Regions from separate parts of the Homo sapiens genome. Here region 2 is linked to region 1. The links are contacts of gene promoters, found by promoter capture Hi-C in human tissues and cell types (Jung and others, 2019). All regions are on one chromosome and are shown on one strand. Each heading gives the region's core, a stretch centred on a gene start or on the middle of the fragment in contact. The rest is flanking DNA. Distances are from core to core; before and after follow the strand shown.

Region 1 (4,013 bases), core at 447-2,946:
TCGGGCAAGATGACCCTCCAGCTGCACCCGAGGTCCATCCACCAGGAAGGTATATAAGACCTTACCCCTTGGGTTATAGGTCCGGTGGATAAATAAGATCTCAGGGAAATGGTCAAAGACACTTTGCATAAAGCAGCTCTGGTAGTTGAAGGTATCTAACTGGGCAGTCTTGTTAACCTGGTGCAGCAGCATAGGTGGGCTTGAGTCCTTAATCAGGAGCCCATTCAGCATTGTCAGGGCCATGGGAGAGATGGGAGCTGTCCAAATGCCAAGGTCAAAATACTTTCTTTGCAGGGCAGCTGACCACGGGGCTTTGAGTCTCTCAAGCATCAAGTAAGTTGAGGCTGGAGGCTAGACAATCATTCCCAGATCTTTTTTCCAAAGATGGGCCTATGGAGAGTAACAGAGGTTTAAGGAGACAGCAGGGACCTGGCTCTTCAATTATTCATCCACACAATATTTGTTGAACACTTACTATATGTCAGCACTGTTCTAGGGGAAGATACACAATAAACATGTAAACAAATAAGCAAATATATATCCAATAATGAAGCTTACAAAGACCATAAACCTGAGTAACATGTCAGAGAGTAAGCTGGGGAAGGGAGGGATACTTTAGTTAAAGTGGTAATGGAAGGCCTCTCAGGGGAGAAGGATGACATTGGAGCTGAAATCTAAATGATAAGAAGTTAGCTATGGAAAGATATGGTTCCAGGGGATTTAAATAGGTATGGCCAGAGCTGCATATGGCCTTTTAAAAAAATAGCATTCTAGCCAGGTGCAGTGGCTCACACCTGTAATCCCAGTACTTTGGGAGGCCAAGGTGGGCAGATAACTTGAGGTTGGGAGTTCGAGACCAGCCTGGCCAACATGGTGAAAACCCGTCTCTACTAAAAATACAAAAAGAATTAGCCGGGTATGGTGGCCCATGCCTGTAGTCTCAGCTACTCGGGAGGCTGAGGCAGGAGACCTGCTTGAACCCAGGAGGCTGAGGTTGCAGTGAGCCGAGATTGCGCCACTGCACTCCAGCTCTGGGTGACAGAGTGAAACTCTGTCTCAAAAAATAAAATAAAATAAAAATACGATTTTATATTTATAAATGACTGATTGGCATCCATTCTTTCCTTTGGTCCTGGTATGTATAAGAGAACTGCAATTGCTCCAAACTTGCTGTGTTATCTTGGGCAAGTCAATGACCCTCTCTGAGCCTCAATCCCTTCCACCATAAAATATGGCTAACAAATGTGCATAGCTTCTCCTGCCTCTACTATATCCCTCTTTTAGCAGCAATACTCTATTCCATTGTTTCCTCTATTTGGCCCCAGACCGAGTTACTGTCCTCATTTTACAGATGATAAACTAAGGCTCAAAGAAGCTAAGTGACTTGCCCACCATTACTCTGTAAGTAGCTGAAAGTTGAGTCTTTGGTTCGGGATCCTGACTGCTGTCCACAGTACCTGGGGTCCAAAAACCAACAGAGGGAATACGGCCTTTGACCTCTCACCTCTAACCTGGGTGGGAGATGTGGATGTCTGACATTCCCAGAGTCCAGCTGGAGCCGGATGAGAAGAAAACCTCCCTCCCATCCCTTTGGGAGCTGTGTGACGGCTAACTGCGGTGATCCGCTGTCTCACACTTTCACCCCTTCAGGAAGCACTCACCCACAGCCAGGCTCCGTCGCCATTTCTCCCTATTTGACCCTGCCTCCGACTCTGACTGACATCCAAACTCACCAACCACAGCGTCAGCATCGCAGTGACTCGGACCAATGTCTGAGGAATTCGCTTTCAGGCTTTAGCACCACGGACCAATCGTAGCGTGACGATTCGCGGGCGGGCCGTGTTGCCAGGGTTACAAGGAGCTGGCTGGAGGTAAAGATACTTGCATCTGGGAGAGCTGAGCCTTGAAGCTGGAGCTCCGGGGCTTCCCTTCAGGCTAGGCGACTGGAAGGACACGTTACTATGGAAACTCCCTCAAAAGCAGAAAATGAAAAGGAAAATAAATAGCAGTTATATATATATTTTTTCTTTTTCTTTTTTTGAGATGGAGTCTCGCACTGTCGCCTGGGATGGAGTGCAGTGGCAAGATCTCGACTCACAGCAACCTCCGCCTCCCAGGTTCAAGCGATGATTCTCCTGCCTCAGCCTCCTGAGTAGCTGGGATTACAGGCACCCGCCACCACGCCCAGTTAATTTTTTGTATTTTTAGTAGAGACGGGGTTTCACCCTGTTGGCCAGGCTGGTCTCGAACTCCTGGCCTCGTGATTCGCCCACCTCAGCCTCCCAAAGTGCTGGGATTACAGGCGTGAGCCACCGCGGGTTTTGTTTTGTTGTGTGTGTGTGTGTGAAACTCTAAAGCCCCTGGAATTTAGGAAACAGTGCATATATAGTCATAACGCATATTCTACCTTATGGGGAAACTGAGTTCCAGGTCTCAAATTCTACTCCTCCTTCGGGGATCAGGAGCCCAACTTTTAGAGCTGAGGAAATCCAGATCCCCTTAAACAAGCCAAAACTTGGCATTCTCTAGCCCAACCCCCTCCAGTATTCTACAGAATGATGCCATGACTTATTTAGGGTCCTACTACAGTAGTGCAAGGGCCTACTAACTGGTCTCTTGTCCTCAGTTCCCTTGAAGATGGCAGACTTAGAAAACTGGGTGTTTACCAGGCCTTGGAGGATTAAGATTACCAACTAGCAACATCAAATCAGTGTTGGTACTTACGCATCGAAAATGTTATTGGGCTGGGTGCAGTAGGTCATCCCTTTAATCCCAGCACTTTGAGAGGCTGAGGCAGGTGGATTGCCTGAGATCGGGAGTTCAAGACCAGCCCGACCAACATGGTGAAACCCCATCTCTAAATACAAAAAATTAGGCAGGCGTGGTGGCACATGCTTATAATCCCAGCTACTCAAGAGGCTGAGGCAGAATCGCTTGAACCCAGTAGGCAGAGGTTGCAGTGAGCCGAGATTCTGCCATTGCACTCTAGCCTGGGCAACAAGCAACAAGAGCGAAACTCCATCTCAAAACAAAAAACAAAAAGGTGCTTATGTAAACCTAGAGGGGAAATCTGGGATTAGAACAGGCCAACATGCTAATTTTTACAGAGGAAACTGAGGTCAAAGAAATTGCCCACAGTTCCCCAGCAAGTTGCTGGCAGTCAAGTCTAAGATTCAGGTTTTTCCCCCACACCCTCCAGTCTATTTGGCCTCTTCCCGCTAGAATATAAGGAAACCTGAAATCAACCTTGAAGGCTTAGTTGTAGGAAGGAGGCAAATTAAGACGCAGATTGCCAAATCCTTGAATGTGAGGCATCAGGTTCTATTTGGCTCCACAACCCCATTAGGTTGCTAATACTTAATTTTCTTTTCTTTTTTTTTTGTTGTTGTTTTTTGCTTGAGATAGAGTCTCACTCTGTCACCCAGGCTGGAGTGCGGTGGCACGATCTAGGCTCACTGCAACCTCCGCCTCCTGGGTTCAAGCGATTCTCCTGCCTCAGCCTCCCAAGAAGCTGGGATTACAGGTGCGCCACCACGCCTGGCTAATGTTTGTATTTTTAGTAGAACAGGGTTTCGCCATGTTGGCCAGGCTGGTCTCGAACTCCTGACCTCAGATGATCCATCCACCCGCCTCGACATCCCAAAGTGCTGGGATTATGAGTGTGAGCCACTGCGCCTGGCCTCAATTTTCTTTAAAATTAATAAATCCACCTAGAGCAGCCACTTCCTAACTGTAAAGTCGAGTCCTATTGCTATGCAATTCCTCTTCCTTCCCTGATCAAGCAGAACACATTTCCCTTGTTTAATTTTATTAAAAACAACTTTAATATGAATAAAAAGTTACAAATAAGATTCTTCATAAAGAGCAGCAACAGCCAAAGATCATCCTCATTCCCTTTGTCCCTGAAAACAGGCCCTTTTACCAGACCGATTTTGTCTCACCCTAACCTGAGGCAGGGATTCATCTTTGCAGAGCAAATAAGATCTGATCTCAGGGGCTGGGGGAGGAAGAGG
Region 2 (4,013 bases), core at 575-3,074, 510 kb before region 1:
TTTAGTTGTGCCATCTTCAAATGGAGGTGATAATCCTGTTCTGCCTAATTCGTGGGGCTGCTGGGAGGACACAATAAAATAAGTGAAAGCACTTGGAAAACTAGTTCCTTTACATTGTCATGTTCTGGAAATGCTGGCTTTTTATGACAGTAGACTTCTGAAGCATCCCATTCTGACTAGGAAATGGTCATGAAAGCATCCCTCTTTCTGAGGCCGATGGGCTTGTGGGGGACAGGACTTTTACTCCTTTTCATCTAAGAGGTTTATACTTACCAGGCTGTGAGAACTGACATCTGTGTTTGGGCTGAAAAATTGATAGCATACATGCATAATAGCCTCGCGACAGCTATGCTTTGTACGCCAGGAGAGGCAGGTGGTCCCCATTAGCGAGGCATGAATTGTGGGTGAATGGCTAAACCTGGAGGATGCAGAAAGGTCTTTTTCATTAAGAGAGGGGCCTCTCCTGAACTTGTAGGCAAGGAGTGTAAATATACATTGAAATAATCCATCAGCCAAGTGACTTCCCTTCGTCAGACCTTGGAGAGAGAATGCTTTAGTTACTGCTTGGAATACCAGTAAGCTATCAGAGTTGCCTAGGATACCAGTCACATGGGCCCATCTTCCAGACTTGCTCAGGATGATTTATTTTCCTTTATTTTGGAGAGAAGTGGGGGAGGGGGTCAGAGGTACTTGCAAAGCCTTGTCCTTATAAGAGGGGCCCTTGTGTGAGGATATCCTTACCTCTCTCCACTTGAGTTGTCAGCCGCCCTTGCCCTTGGCAGTAGGGACGAAAATAGCATTTCCTGTCCCAGTTATCTTCCCCATTTTCTGATGTCGTCCCACACAGAGGAGGCTTTGCATTGTGTCCTTTGAGGGGAAAGGGGTGGCATCGATGAGTGGGGAGGAAGCAAGAGAGCATGTAGCTGGGCCCTGCTGATGCTGGGATCTTCCTAGGATGACTGCAGAAAGAAGTAGCCTGGCTCCTCCAGCTAACCACTCAACCAAGAAAAGGCTGTCTATTCTTATCTGTCTCGGAGCATATGCTTCTCTCCTCCCAAGGTCTCAAGACAGGAATTTGCAGTAAATACATTCCTCTACCACTGAGTCTTCTTGACTCTTAAACTGAAGTGCCACATTGGCATATCTTGCTACTGGCTGATCTATGGATGATAGATAGTTTGTCCCATTTCTTCTTGCTGATTTAATCTCAAGAGACAAAATCCTAAGCAGAAGTTGTGGTATGATCTAGAAAAATTCAAACCAGGTAGTTTCATGTGTTACTTTATGCAGTGTCTGTCTTCAAACTCTTCAAAACATGTAACAAGAGTGAAAAATGAAGAAATACTCTTTTTCCACCTTTCTGATTCTTTCTCCCCAGGCAGCCGTGTCTGTGTTTTTGTCTCGCAGAATTAGAGCCCATTGGGAACGATGCCACCACCGTCAGACATTGTCAAAGTGGCCATTGAGTGGCCAGGTGCTAACGCCCAGCTCCTTGAAATCGACCAGGTATGCTCCTGAAGTGAGAAGCAGTGGTTCAAGGAAAGGCACCTGGGGAGTGCATGGCAGAGGACATCTTGAGGGATGGGGACCACCGGCATCAAGAGTAAGAACGAGCAACAGGAAGGCTAAGCTTTGGGCCTGGCCCACCCTAGGGAAGGTCGGTCACCATGGCTTGGGAGAGGCTTCCTCTTCAACAAAAGCTGTTAGGAAAGAAGTTCATTCTCATGCCCCAGCTTGACCCTGCTTGGCAGGCCTCTTGTCAGAACCTTGGCATGAGTAGGATGTTGCTGCTGTTGAAGGCTTTCTCTCTCTCTCTTTCAGAAACGGCCCCTGGCATCCATTATCAAGGAAGTTTGTGATGGGTAGGTTGAAATGGACCTCGTTTTCAACAGTGGCAGCTCCGACTGAAAGAGCACTCCTACACCTTGAGGGGAGTTCTGGGAAGGATCTCCAGTTAGGCAGGTCCTCAGCATGGGGGTCTTGGGAATCATTGTCTTGGGAAGGAAGTACAGTTGACAACCATACCCCTAAGACGTTTATACTTCTTAATTTTTTCCTTAAAGTCTAGCATTGCCCTATTGAGGTAGGATCTGAGACCCCTCCTCAGTTCTGCACACCTCCTATTGTGGTGCTCATCTTTACAAAAGGCTGAGGCCATGATTTTTTCAACATGACAACCTAAAGCTTTGTTTCCACTGTATTCCAAATAGGCCACCCAATCCCTTGAGCAACTCTTTTGAAAATTACTTATGAGCAGCTTCTGAACAAGAGAGTGGCCAAGTGGGATATACTGTTTTTCTCTTGCATAGGTGGTCGTTGCCAAACCCAGAGTATTATACCCTCCGTTATGCAGATGGTCCTCAGCTGTACATCACCGAACAGGTTAGTACAGGGAGAGGCAAAATCAATATGGGCCTTGCTTGGAATTAAACGACCCAAGGAGACGGCACTATTTATCTTCACTCAGCATCCAGGTAGCTTCCATGTGTTGGGTAAAGAGTCACTCTCCGGACAGACTGGGAAACACCAGCCCTTGTTCTTCCCTAGTGGCTAGAAAAAGGTGGCTTTTACTTCCTGAGTGCCCAGGGTGCTAGAGGAGGATCTTAGAAATTCTTTGCCAAGGAATAAGCAGGAGAAGAGGGCCCGACTGAAGATCCTCAGTTACATCTACTGTAAAAAAGACAAAACATTATTGTTGATTCAACTTGCTTGTACCACTTTAACATTTTATCTTAGTTACTTTTTTTGTTTATTTTTCACTACCCAGACTCGCAGTGACATTAAGAATGGGACAATCTTACAACTGGCTATCTCCCCGGTAGGTATTCTTTCTTCCTTAGGAGTTTATTCATGTCACAAACAAATATGAGCACCTACCATGGGCCAGACTCTGTTCTAGAAATAAGTACTCTGGAGATAAGAAAGTCAGTCTTTTTGTATCAGGAAATAGTACAGGAAAATAAGTCTGTCTTGGTTCTCACCACCTAGTGGGGAGTAAACAAATGCAATAGAAGGCCTGTCTCAAGGGTCTTGAGAGAAAGTTGCTTAGGGAGCTGTGGGAACTCACAAAGGGGACCACCTAACTCAGCCTGGAGATTTCCAGAAAGTCTTGCCAGAGAAGGCGTCACTTAGCTCAGATGTTAAAGGATGAGCAAGAATTAGCTAGAGAAATAAGAAAAGGAAAAGTATTCCAGTCAGAGAAATCAGCATATGCCAAGGCACAGAGGTATGCTGTGTTTGGGAAAAGCAGGAGTGCTGGGTGGCTGGAGGCTTGTAGCAGTCATTGAGAAGCCAGATATTCAAGGTTCCTTGATGGCCTACTCGTAGGTTTCAACTCTGTCCAGAAGGAAACTGGGGACATTGAAGAATTTTAAGCAGGAAGATATGTTATGTTTAGATTTTAAGTTTTAGAAAGATCACTTTAGTGACCATGTGGAAGATGGGCCTTAAGAAGAAGGTTGGTGGTAGTAGGAACCTTTGAAGAGGCTAATAAGGAATGTTAACAGCCCAGTGAAGGCAAGTGGTAATGGAGATGAAAGGATGGATATGAAGAGTATCTAGGAGGTAAGCTTTATGAGTATGGTGATATGCTAGATGTGGAAGGAAAGGGGAGAATGGAGGATGACCCTGATTTGTGCAAGAGCAGCCCTTAAAGGTCACTAAGGAAGCAACCAGAAGGGTAGAAAGAACACCAAGAAGGTGAAGTGACTGAGGAGCTTTGGGCAGGGAGAGTGTCAGGACTGAGGAGAGTATGGTCTGCAATTTTTAATAAGCAGAGAGATTTAGTAAACTGAGAGCAGAAAAGCTGTCTAATGACTTGGGAGGTTAGAGGACACTGGTGATACTCACAAAAAAGTTATGGTGGGGAGGCCAGGTGGCCACACTGAAGTGGTCAAGTAAAAGAAAGGTAAAACAGTGAGGACTTTGAGTCTACTGCTGTATCAAGAAGCTTGGTTTTAAAAGAAAACACAGAGAAGGTGATAATGCGAAGGGGACGTGGAGTCAAAAAGATG

What was found. The method cuts DNA at HindIII sites, captures the fragments that hold promoters and counts their contacts. A contact is called where the count stands out against the background at its distance.
Region 2: a fragment that was not itself captured here is called in contact with the fragment with the promoter of ZSWIM1 in region 1 in 1 of the 25 tissues and cell types used here (liver).

Annotation. Positions count from the first base shown.
Region 1 is chr20:45,878,910-45,882,922 of GRCh38, reverse strand. ZSWIM1 (zinc finger SWIM-type containing 1) reads right to left here and starts at 1,696. Exons shown (of 2, transcript NM_080603.5): 1 at 1,662-1,696; 2 at 1-390. The coding sequence starts at 330. It overlaps ZSWIM3 (zinc finger SWIM-type containing 3), which reads right to left. Exons shown (of 2, transcript NM_080752.4): 2 at 3,801-4,013. RefSeq lists enhancers at 1,607-1,686, 1,937-1,986. The HindIII fragment of the contact is 12,007 bases long and covers 1-4,013 here.
Region 2 is chr20:46,391,898-46,395,910 of GRCh38, reverse strand. It overlaps ELMO2 (engulfment and cell motility 2), which reads left to right. Exons shown (of 22, transcript NM_133171.5): 3 at 1,379-1,506; 4 at 1,822-1,862; 5 at 2,310-2,382; 6 at 2,768-2,818. The coding sequence starts at 1,429. LOC124904917 (a long non-coding RNA gene) reads right to left here. Exons shown (of 3, transcript XR_007067614.1): 3 at 1-2,670. Among named protein-coding and RNA genes, the nearest start is that of ELMO2, 13 kb to the left of the region's middle. RefSeq lists an enhancer at 1,178-1,677. The HindIII fragment of the contact is 3,871 bases long and covers 1-3,759 here.